Regions from separate parts of the Homo sapiens genome. Here region 2 is linked to region 1. Evidence: promoter capture Hi-C in 16 types of primary human blood cells and fetal thymus (Javierre and others, 2016). All regions are on one chromosome and are shown on one strand. The core of a region is centred on a gene start or on the middle of the fragment in contact, and the rest is flanking DNA. Distances in the headings are between cores, read along the strand shown. Region 1 holds the start of TMEM126A (transmembrane protein 126A). Region 2 holds the start of PRCP (prolylcarboxypeptidase).

The links. The method cuts DNA at HindIII sites, captures the fragments that hold promoters and counts their contacts. A CHiCAGO score of 5 or more calls a contact.
Region 2: a contact is called between the fragment with the promoter of PRCP here and the fragment with the promoter of TMEM126A in region 1, in 1 of 17 cell types (erythroblasts). The highest score is 6.6, in erythroblasts.

What each region holds. Positions count from the first base shown.
Region 1 is chr11:85,645,187-85,651,046 of GRCh38, reverse strand. TMEM126A (transmembrane protein 126A) reads right to left here and starts at 3,080. Exons shown (of 5, transcript NM_032273.4): 1 at 2,958-3,080; 2 at 706-798. The coding sequence starts at 791. RefSeq lists enhancers at 2,830-3,099, 3,270-3,319. The HindIII fragment of the contact is 2,186 bases long and covers 974-3,159 here.
Region 2 is chr11:82,896,318-82,901,679 of GRCh38, reverse strand. It overlaps PRCP (prolylcarboxypeptidase), which reads left to right and starts at 1,250. Exons shown (of 9, transcript NM_005040.4): 1 at 1,250-1,445. The coding sequence starts at 1,278. It overlaps LOC124902602, which reads left to right. Exons shown (of 2, transcript XM_047427953.1): 2 at 1-766. The coding sequence ends at 656. RefSeq lists silencers at 315-404, 455-504 and enhancers at 715-764, 1,045-1,144, 1,295-1,354, 1,475-1,524. The HindIII fragment of the contact is 4,585 bases long and covers 1-2,265 here.

The DNA.
Region 1 (5,860 bases), core at 1,831-4,330:
CCCAGGCTGGGGTGTAGTGGTGTGATCTCGGCTCACTGCAACCTCCGCCTCCCTGGTTCAAGCAATTCTCCTGCCTCAGCCTCCCAAGTAGCTGGGATTACAGGCACCTGCCACCACGCCCAGCTAATTTTTGTACTTTTAGTAGAGATGAGGTTTCACCATGTTGGCCAGGCTGGTCTGAACTCCTGACCTCAGGTGATCTGCCCACCCTGGCCTCCCAAAGTGCTGGGATTACTGGCGTGAGCCACCATGCCTGGCCCTCTTTAATAATATCTTAAAGATCTTTAGCCATGATCCTATTTCTCTGACATTCTCTATCTTGCTATGTGTGTTCTATGGTACTCTTAGACTGGTAAGCATACTGACAGAATGAACTGGGAAAAAAAAGACATTTTAAAAGTTAAAGTTTTGTTATTTAAATGGGTCTGTAAATGTTTACATTTTACTATACTCCAAGCCTAATGGAAAAACTCAAAACATTATACAATTAGGTATGTCCAAAGACATGAGTTCCAGCCTCACCTTCCACAATTAGCTATGTGATGTTGAGCAAAATGGTTAAACGCTCTCATCCAGGCAAGAAAAGGGCAATTTCCTTCTCACATTCCATGTTGTTTATACTCAAACCAGATAAACTTGAGATAATGAATCAATGGTGAAAATCCACCTGATAAAAGGTGTTTTTAAATTAAGAAGGGATCTTACCTTTCTGCTTCTGGAAGCTGGTTAATTTTTCTGGATATATCAACAATTGTTATGTTTTCCTTATTATTGGATTTATGATTTTCCATTTTGAGCCTTAAAAAACATGAAGATATCATTTCTCAAGAATTTATACAAAGAATTTTAAAAACCTTCTGAAGACTAAAAATAATACTGTAGAGCTAATCTGAAAAAAATCATTGCATACATATTATTAAAAAAAAATCTAAGTGAAACAGAAACCAGAACATGAAAAGCAACACATAAAGCTTTTAGGAAATACAGAATATCTTCATAATCCTTGAAAGTATTTCCTAAACAATTCACAAATAGCACTAAACATAAAAGACTTATAAAACTAACAGTATTGAAGTTAAGAACCTATGGTTATCAACATATACCATAAAGATAAGCTAGTGGGGGAGAAAATGCAATAGAACTGACAAAAGAGTAGTTAGTACCCAGAACATACATGGAACTACATATCAACATGAAAAAGGTAAGCAGCCCTACGGAAAAACTGACAAAATATTTGAACAGGCACTTCACAAAAAGGAAAGTTAAATGGCCAATAAACATGAAAATATGCTCACCTTCATTATAACTGGGGGAACAACCCACAGTGAGATACCAATAGGTACCCATAGGTTAGCTAAAATCAAAATCTGACAATTCCAATTATTGGCAAGAATGCGGGGTAGCTAAAACTACATTCTGTGTACATTCTGTGGGGTAGCTTTACCCAAACTGTACAGTCACTTTGGGAAAGAATTTGGTATTATTTAGCAGATAGAAGACACACATAGCTAGCAATTTCATTTCTAGGTATACCTGAGATCAGGGCTCAGCAAACTTTAAAGGGCCAGATGTAAATGTGGTAGGCTTTGCAGGTAACATACAGCCTTTGTTGAATATTTGTTTTTAAAAAAACTATAAAAACATAAAAATCATTCTTAGCTGGGTGGCTGTACCAAGGCAAGCTATAGGCTGCATATGGCCTACATGCCAGTAGTTTGTTGATGTCTGCACTAGTTAGGGTGAAAATGTGAAGGGAATGGTGAATGATGAAGATTTGGCTCAGGTTTCAGGGTAACAGTTAAGAAAAACAAAGGCTGGATGCAGTGGCTCACGCCTGTAATCCCAGCACCTTGGGAGGCCAAGGCAGACGGATCACCTGAGGTCAGGAGTTCGAGACCAGCCTGGCCAACATGGTGAAACTCCCTGTCTTTTAAAAATACAAAAATTAGCCAGGCACGGCGGCAGCTGCCTGTAATCCCAGCTACTCGGGAGGCTGAGGCAGGAGAATCGCTTGAACCTGGGAGGTGGAGGTTGCAGTGTGCCGAGATCTCGCCACTGCACTCCAGCCTGGGTGAGAGCGAGACTCGGTCTACAAAAAAAAAAAAAAAAACAGTTCAGGGATAACAACAAAGGAAAACATGCTTTTATGAAACCAGATTTTCTCATTTCCTACAACATTACAGGCACTCGTTTAAATATTTATTGCTACCTGTTTTATATCGATAAGAGGTCATTTGGAAATGTTGATTACCTTGACATTCCATATCTCTAGACTTAAAGCTAACCTAATAAGTACAAAGCAGCCTTAGAAATTTATGTCTAGGTTTCTGGTAGTCAAATTTTTGAGGGCCTTGGCTACGATAAGATGATAAGACACAATCTCTGCTGTACAGGAGCTCTGAATGATTTTGTGTATGGGGTGGTGAAATATATAATCAAATTTAGTATGTATATATTGTACTGAGGGCAATTAAGTCACTCAATTCAGTATAAGTGCTGACTGGGCAGCCCCTGTGGGCATTTTGTCTCCGATATTAATAACAAATATCTATCAAAGACAACGCCGCCTGTAAAAACTACAAATATTTCGAAAGATTTTTGTGTTACCTATCTCATGTCATTCTTGGAAGAGCTCTGAGAGATAGGCAGTGTGGGGCCTATCTGAAAGAGAAGTAAAGTGGGACCTCTGAAAATCAAATTTGGCCGTGGTCACCTTGTAAATTGACAGTAAACCTGGGATTAAATTCAATCTCAGGCATTTCTCCTTTCTACTGAGTTAATTTAAATATAAGGTCTTTCCTTCTAGAGTGCAAAGTGAAAAGACAGCAGGAAGAGCTAACTACACTTCTACTTGCTCTCATTTACGCGCAGCGCTGCTGGTAGCTAGCGTGTCACCGCGTCGTGCTTCTCCTGACACCGGGACATTTACTTCACCCCCTCCCCCGGAATACCAGTACCTTATGCTCTCCTCCCAGCAGCCTGTGGGTGCCTCCTCCTTCCTCAGCCACGCCGGAGTTCACTGTGGCCTTTGCTCAAATTACCTGGGCGCAGCCATCTTTGGCTGACTCGTGACGCGGCGTGGGCGGGCGCCGGGTCGCGGCTGCTAATTGGACTGCGGGACGGAGGTTGCAGCCAGCAGCGGCTTTGGGCTGAGAAGCTTCCGGCCCTAGGAGGTGCCGGGAGGCTAAGCGTTGAGGTTTGTTTGCCTGGCGTAGAGTGTGCTCGTTTCACCTACTCTTGCCTCCCAGGACAGAACTTGTAGAAATTGTGAAATTTCGAGATATAAGTTGGGTGACCCTCAGTCAGCCTCTTCCATTGAAAACGTACCTCGGGCATATTACTTAACTTCCTGGTCAGTAGAGCCTACTTACGTTCTTGGCATGGGGTAAATGAAAACTGCACAGCTCTTGGCATATGATAGCTACTCAGGTTAAAAATAAGTCAAAGGTGAGCTATTTCTTGGCTCTATCGATTTTCTACTCTCCCTAGGAACTTAAGCTCCCTGTGCCATGTTTTGATCTGTATTGATTGCCCTACCATAATCAGCACCTCAGAGCTGCAGCTTATTTTTCTGAGGATTTCTCGTGTTCTCCAGAGTACTGCTTATTTGGAAGCAGTGTTGGGTGAAAGTCATCTTATTTCTTCTTGCTTTTTAAGTATAAATACTAGAAAATTTAGAATTATATATGTGGCTTGCATTATATTTCTATTGGACAGTGCTGTTCAGAAGGTACCTCTAATGCTCTCCTCCCAGCAGCCAGTGGATGCCTCACCAGGTCTTCCTCAGCCATGCTGGGGCTCCCTGCAACCTTTGCTCAGTTCGCTTGGACTAATTAACCCAATAGAAGGGAAAAATGCCTACAATTGAATTTTATCTTAACTCCATTAAGATTAGCAGGTAAACATTGTGCCAAAAAATATATAACTAACTGTAGCAATAAATACATGATCATAACACATTATCAGAAATCTTAATTATTCTCATCCTCTCAAATTTCTGAACAAGTGATAAAGTGTTGCATTGTCCAGATAATTTTTATACTGTCTCTCCATTGCAGGGTTGCTTGACCATTAGGCTCCATAGTGCCAAGAAGTCTGTAATTGCAGTTTCTAAACTTGCACAAATAGAAAGACTTATTTTCACGAAGGTGTACAAGAAGGAAAATTCCTAGTCTTTTTTTTATTTTTATTTTTTATTTTTTAGACAGAGTTTTGCTCTCGTCGGCCAGGCTGGAGTGCAATGGCCTGATCTCAGCTCATTGCAACTTCTGCCTTCCAGGTTCAAGCGATTCTCCTGCTTCAGCCTCCAGAGTAGCTGGGATTACAGGCGTGTGCCACCACGCCCAGCTGATCAGCTGATTTTTTTTTTTGTTTTTGAGACTGAGTCTCGTTCTGTCACCCAGGCTGGAGTGTAGTGGTGTGATTTCGGCTCACTGCAAGCCCCGCCTCCTGGGTTCACAGCATTCTCCTGCCTCAGCCTCCCAAGTAGCTGGGACTACAGGCTCCTGCCACCACGCCTGGCTAATTTTTTTGTATTTCTAGTAGAGACGGGGTTTCACTGTGTTAGCCGGGATGGTCTCTATCTCCTGACCTCGTGATCCACCCGCCTCGGCCTCCCAAAGTGCTGGGATAACAGGCGTGAGCCACCGTGCCCAGCCTCGGCTTATTTTTTAGTAAAGACAGGATTTCACCACGTTAGCCAGGCTGGTCTCGAACTCCTGACCTCAGGTGATCCACCCGCCTCGGTCTCCCAAAGTGCAGGGATTACAGGCGTGAACCAGCGTGCCTGGTCATCTAGTCTTTTACTCACTTTGCTTTTCATCTCAAGGTTTTAAGCAAACAAATCACAATATTCTGCTTACTACCTTTGCCTTAATGGAATTTCACTAGGCCTTCTCTGTAACTGTCTGTGTTTCCTAATTATGTAGAAACTATAAACCACCATCTTGTAGAGAATAATGGCCAATAAGGTTGAAAAGTTAAAAAAAAAAAAAAAAAAGAGCCAGAGTGTGGAATACTTCAAATGCCAGACTAAGAATTTGCTCCCTTTTGTTTGCTTTATTTTCTGGGAAACGTTAGTTATTAAAAATGGGAGTTAAAAAATTCATAGTTACACTATGATAAGATGCATATGATGTAGAAAAAAATGGAGGCAATACTGCAGATGGAGATTAGATAGGTGCCTCTAAATAAAAATCTCAAGGACATCTCATACTCCAAAGCTGAAAATCGTATATGTTTTCCTCTCTTATATCTACTGTTTCCTGTCTCAGGGCTTGACAACACCATCCATTTCATTGCACAAGCCAGAAACTTAAGTTCATCCACATTACTCCCTGCAGACTAATCAATCGTGAACAATTTATTGATTTTCTTCCTAGATATTCTTTACAGAAATCATTTCTTATTTAGGCACTGGAGGTGACTCTGTTCTCACAGATTCCACTCATCTTCCTTTCAGCAATTCTCTACATAGCATCTATGAAAATTTTTGTCAGACAATTTAGCTGAACTTGGGCTGTGCATGGAAGAGAGGGGATAGAAATGTAGCCAGAAATCTGCAATGTCTATGATGCTTGCACCAGACAACCGTAAGCTCTTTTTGGAAACAGGAAATAAAGAACAATTTGTCAAAGCATATTTTTCTGTCACTAAAAATACATGCCATTCTTTTGATTTTAAAAGTTTTGAGAAATGCCGAAAGAGAAAAGATAATTTAGTTTCTTATAGCTTGTCTGAACTCTCTAACAACAGAATATTGGCACATAAAATAGTTAATAAAAGAAAATGGAATTTGACCACTTGTCACTACCTTTATTGCTACTACTTATTATCTCTTACCTAGACTGTCTATAAAATC
Region 2 (5,362 bases), core at 1-2,500, 2.7 Mb after region 1:
CCAATCAGAAGAAGGCGCCGCAGAGGGTGGAGCTTAGCGAGGAAATCCTACAAGCATCTGGAAACGACCATTTTCGTCAAACTGCGGGTAGAGTCTTTCTCCCCGACAGGTGGATCAGTAGTACAGTCCGTAAAATTGGTTTTGGAGCTTCGCTGAGCCTCCTGGGCGTAGGGTTCCCGGGAAAGTGTGGAGTGAGCCGCAGCGCCCTGGGGTCTGGCGGGGTGACTGAAAGAGGGAATGGAAGCTGGATGAAGAGGGTTGAGGGAGCTTTGGAAGCCAGACCCGGCGCTGTCCTAGGGGCTAGCACTACCCACGGGCGGAGGGAGGAAGGGGGCGGTGGCAGGAGGCAGGAGGGGGGTGGAGCGCGGAGTGGGTTTTCGGGTGCCGGAGAAGAAAGGGGGCGTTATTTGAAAGAAGGGACCGGGACCTGGCGGGATTTAGGGGCGATGTGGACCCGGGGCGACCTGTGTAATGGATGGGTTGTGCGAGCAACACAGTTTTGGGGTGACCCAAGAACGGAGTATCATAGGGAGTGGTTAGGCTCCAGATGGAGGTGGGTGCAAGGAGCACAGTCTTTGGACCTGGACCCAGCGGTCTGCGACGACGTGCTCCGCTCACTGCTGAGTGATCTAGTGCAAGTTCCCGCACCTCTCTGAGCCTCAGTTTCCACATCTGTAGATGGGAATAACAATCATATACGACGCACAAGATTGCTGTGACGATTTAGTTAGAGGAGATGATGCGTGTGCCTCCCTGCCTCGTGATACACTGGCCTGTAGTGAACCTTCAATAAATTGTCATGGTAGCTGTTATTGCCGTTACGTAGGATTTGCGGAAGGCAGGAGGTGTCGCAATGGAATTGCGGTGGCCAGGGCAGGGTTTGGTGGTGATGATAATGGTAGGGATATTGGGTGACCTGAAGGACAGGTGGGCTTCGGGGGCGCTATAGATAAAGCATGGGCTACAGCGATGAGTTAGGAAGAGGCCCTAGCATGATAAGGGCAGACTTGGGGTGTGACCGCAATGAAGGTGAGTGCTAAGGAGCAGATGGCACGAGAGGAAAGTGGAGTGGAGGCGGTGTCCTCGGGGATGGGGGCGGAGTGGCTGTGGTGACCTGGCTTGGGCGGCGTCTCTGAGGAGCTGGCTGGCTTTGGGTTTCCCCTGGGAGGAGCTGTTTTGCGGCGGGCGGAGCTGCAGGCTGGGCAGGGCTTAGCCTGTGCGCTTCTGCTGGCCTCCTTTTCGCCCTCCCACCCGCACTGCAGTCTCCAGCCTGAGCCATGGGCCGCCGAGCCCTCCTGCTCCTGCTTCTGTCTTTTCTGGCGCCCTGGGCCACCATAGCCCTCCGGCCGGCCTTAAGGGCCCTCGGCAGCCTACACTTGCCAACCAACCCCACATCCCTCCCGGCTGTAGCCAAGAACTATTCGGTTCTCTACTTCCAACAGAAGGTAAGGGGGAGCGGGGGCTTCGCCGTCCCAGGCCCAACCGCCGGGAACCCTGACCCTCAGAGCCCGGGCAACGGAGCCTACCTCGAAATTCACACCCCTTGATGCCTAGGATCTGTTCGGTTTTTGGCTAACATCTTCCAGAAGGTGGTCCCAAATCCCAGTTCTGTTTAAATTTTCTCCTCCCATTACCAATAATTTGGTAGTAGTTTTGGCTGCATACTCTTGATTCAGGCTTTTCTGTAATTGGACACGACAGTCACTTCAACTCCCTCTGCTCCCAGAGGGTGCCCCAATCCGAACTCCCTTGACCTTCCCTCAAATTCAAATTATTAAATGCCAGCTCTGGTACCTAGTCTGCGGTGATAGTCATCCTTTGCCCCAAGGCAGCCCTAAATACAAATTTTAATATCTTTACCTATTAGAAAATATTGGATAGTTATCCATCCTAAAAGCCAGCCTCTCAGAAGGGGTCAGCTCAGAGCTGATTTTGTAGCCCTATTATTAAGAATTGTTGACAGTCCCTATTCCCCATAAGACTGAATGTATGTAGCCTATGCTTGTAAAAGGAGTTGTAGGAGTTTGTGGTGGGGGTGGGGATTAGCCTTTCTATGGTCTGTAACGTGAAATTAGAGGTTTTTGGGCTTGATGCCTTTGTGCTTGGCTGCAGCATGAGGCATTCCCCCACAGGTCTTGATGGAAAAGTACATCCTCTGTGAAATGACAAGTAATCCTTACAGTTCAGCATTTCTGAAAGCCTGTGTAAAAATAGGAAAAGATTTGGAAAAGGTTGGGATTAGAAAGAGTGCAAGGGTCTGAAGCTTGGCTTTAGGAGTCAGATAGAACCGGATTCCACCCTGCTAGCTCTGTGACCTTGGGCAGGTTACAGTACTTCTGTGAGCCTAGTTCCTTGATCTCTTGGGGTTTGTGGTGATGGTTGAATGAGAGCAGATAACGTACTCTTAGCAGAGTATCTGGCTTCAAGTAGGCACTCATATAATATGTGGTTATAGACCTATGTGAAATTTTGTTGTTGTTAATTGTGCAGAGACAAGGCTCACTATGTTGCCCAGGCTAGTCTTGAACTTGTGGGCTCAATAATCCTTCTGCATCAGCCTCCCAAAGTGTTGGGATTACAGGTGTGAGCCACTGAGCCCAGCCCTTATGTGAATTTGGAATGGGAATTTGTGGTAGAGGGATGTCATAGACTTCCAGAATAACTTAGAAATAATTTAAAAATTTTTTTATTTTTAAAAATAGAGATGGGATTTTGTCATCTTGCCTAGGCTGGTCTTGAACTCCTGGGCTCAAGCGATGCCCCTGTCTTGGCCTCCCAAAGGGCTGGGATTGCAGGCGTGTGCCACTGTGTCCCCAGCCAAGAAACAATTTTTAACCCAGACATTTGAGTTCAAGTTTATGAGGAAGAGAAAACATTTTAATTTTAGCAGGGGTACTAGGAAATAATCTTTTTTCTCAGGCAACTCCCTTAAATTAATTCTCTAGGGCATAATTCCCTCATTTGTAAATTAGGAGGGTTGGGACAAGGACCAATGTGTTTTACACTTTACTGAGGAAAATTAAGGGCTCTTTGGGGAGCTGTTTCAGAGGGAAAGTGGATGAAGGCTGAAGTGGAGGCCAAATTAGGTGCTCTAGTACCCTCTCTTGGATCTCTTTCAGCTTTTACCTGTTTTATATGCTGGGATTTTATATACAACTATTTGCAGAACTCAACTGCTAAAGTAAAACGGTGGGGAGGACTATTGGATTGGGAGATCTCTAAAATCCCATTGGGATTGATGAAAAAGAGAACTATCAGCAGAAAAGAGGAAGGGAACAAATGAGTTGTTAGTACCTTAGTTCCTAATTTATGTTCCTTTATTGTAGATTCTTTTCTTGGCCACTACACTCCTTAGAAATATAATTCAACACTGTTTCTTTTTCCATTTTTGATGATATGCAAAGTCCAGCTTTACTCAGCCACATTTTGTCCACTGGCTTATATTTAATTTATATTTTAGGATACAGATTCCACGTATGTATTTATTACCATAATAATAATTTTTCTTCTGTCTATTCCAATTGAGTTTTATTTCATTTTCTGAGGAAAACTTTTACATATGTATTTATTGCATAATTATAATTATACTAGTTGCCAATTTCTGAACCATTGATTTTTAGTTAGGACTATGTGTGAACTCAACTTTAAGTTTTTAAGTTAGAGCACATGAAATACTTTGATGCCTTCTAGTAATAAACTTATTATTAAAACTGTAAGGCTTAGTTTTTTATTCAAGGTTTAATTTTTATTAAACTTTATAATGATTTACCTGTGGTTATATCTGCCCCAGTGACCAAGCTGGACCCAGCTGTCCTTCTATGTATATAAAGGATGTGGTTTTATGGAGTGGTCTCTAAGAAGGCTTAGCCCATGGTCTTATCCCTCCCCTGCTTAGAAATTCTTCATAACTCTGATTGCAGGATAAAGGCCAAACACCTTGGCATGGGAATCCATTGTTCCTTACTATGTAACCCTAGCTGGTCGTTCCAACTTTATATTCTGCCATAATTCCCCATCCCAGCTCCCACTTTTAGCAACCTAACAGACTCAAGTGACTTTTACTGTGTCAGAAATTCTGTCTGGAATACCATCCCTCTTCCCCACTATTTAAACTCATAATTCTATTCCAGCAGAAATGTCTCACCTCTTCTGCGAATCTTTGACTTCTTTAAGGAAATTTAGTTGGTCTTTTTTCATCCTGCACATTTACTATATTGTATGTGTCCCTCCAGCTCGTTAGTACTCTACAATACCTAGAAGAGCCTATAAAAAAGTATAAAGCACAAAATAAATAGTTGTTGAAAGAGTGAATGCATGATTATTCAAAAAGAACCTAAACAAAGCAAAGGCTACCATCATTTAATTGTCACAAATCATTTTTTATTTTTCTTTTTATCTTTTACTTTAATTCTTTACTAATTATTTTTTCCTCCTTTTTCAAGGTCTTCAAATATTGAGTTAGGTAGGACTATTTGATTTCTTTTACCTGAAATAACTGAATTAGGAGACCAGAGAGAGGATAGTACATCACTTGGGCACATCGAGGCTCTGGGTACATGTGTAGTATGTGTGGTATCAGTGTCATAAAGGGCTCTCTGGAATATGTGGCTTGTGGTTACAATGTTGCATGCTTATTACCTTGTACCTCCCACCTGAGCCCCTCAGGCTAGAATGTGAGTCCCAAATCACACATTTTAGTGTGTGATGTAGTGAAGAGGGAGAATGGGTCCTGTCAGGCCATCATTTTTCTCAGTGGTAAAATTGGGAGCAATATCTATTGTATTAGGGTGTGTGTCTGTGTGTTTCTCTCTCTATGAGAGAGATTTTTATTAAGGAATTGGCTCATGCAATTGTGGAGGCTTAGTAAGTCCAAAATCTTCAGGGTAGGTTGGAGGCTGGAAACCCAGGGAAGAGTTGCAGTTTGGATGCCCAGGCATTCTGCTGGCAGAATTTCTTCTTGCTTAGGGGAAGTCAGTCTTTTTTTTTTTTTTTTTTTTTTTTGAGTTGGAGTCTCGCTCTGTTGCCCAGGCTGGGGTGCAGTGGTGAGATCTCGGCTCACTGCAACATCTGCCTCCTGGGTTCAAGTGATTCCCCTGCCTTAGCCTCCCGAGTAGCTAGGATTACAGGTGCCCGCCACCACGCCTGGCTAATTTTTGCAGTTTTTAAAATACAGACAGGGTTTTACCATGTTGGCCAGGCTGGTCTTGAATTCCTGACCTCAAGTGATCCACCCACCTTGGCCTCCCAAAGTGAGGGGAAGTCAAACTTTGTTCTATTAAGGCCTTAAACTGATTAGATAAGGCCCACCCAAATTATGGAGGGTAAAGTCCACTGATTTAAAGTCCGCTGATATAAATGTTAA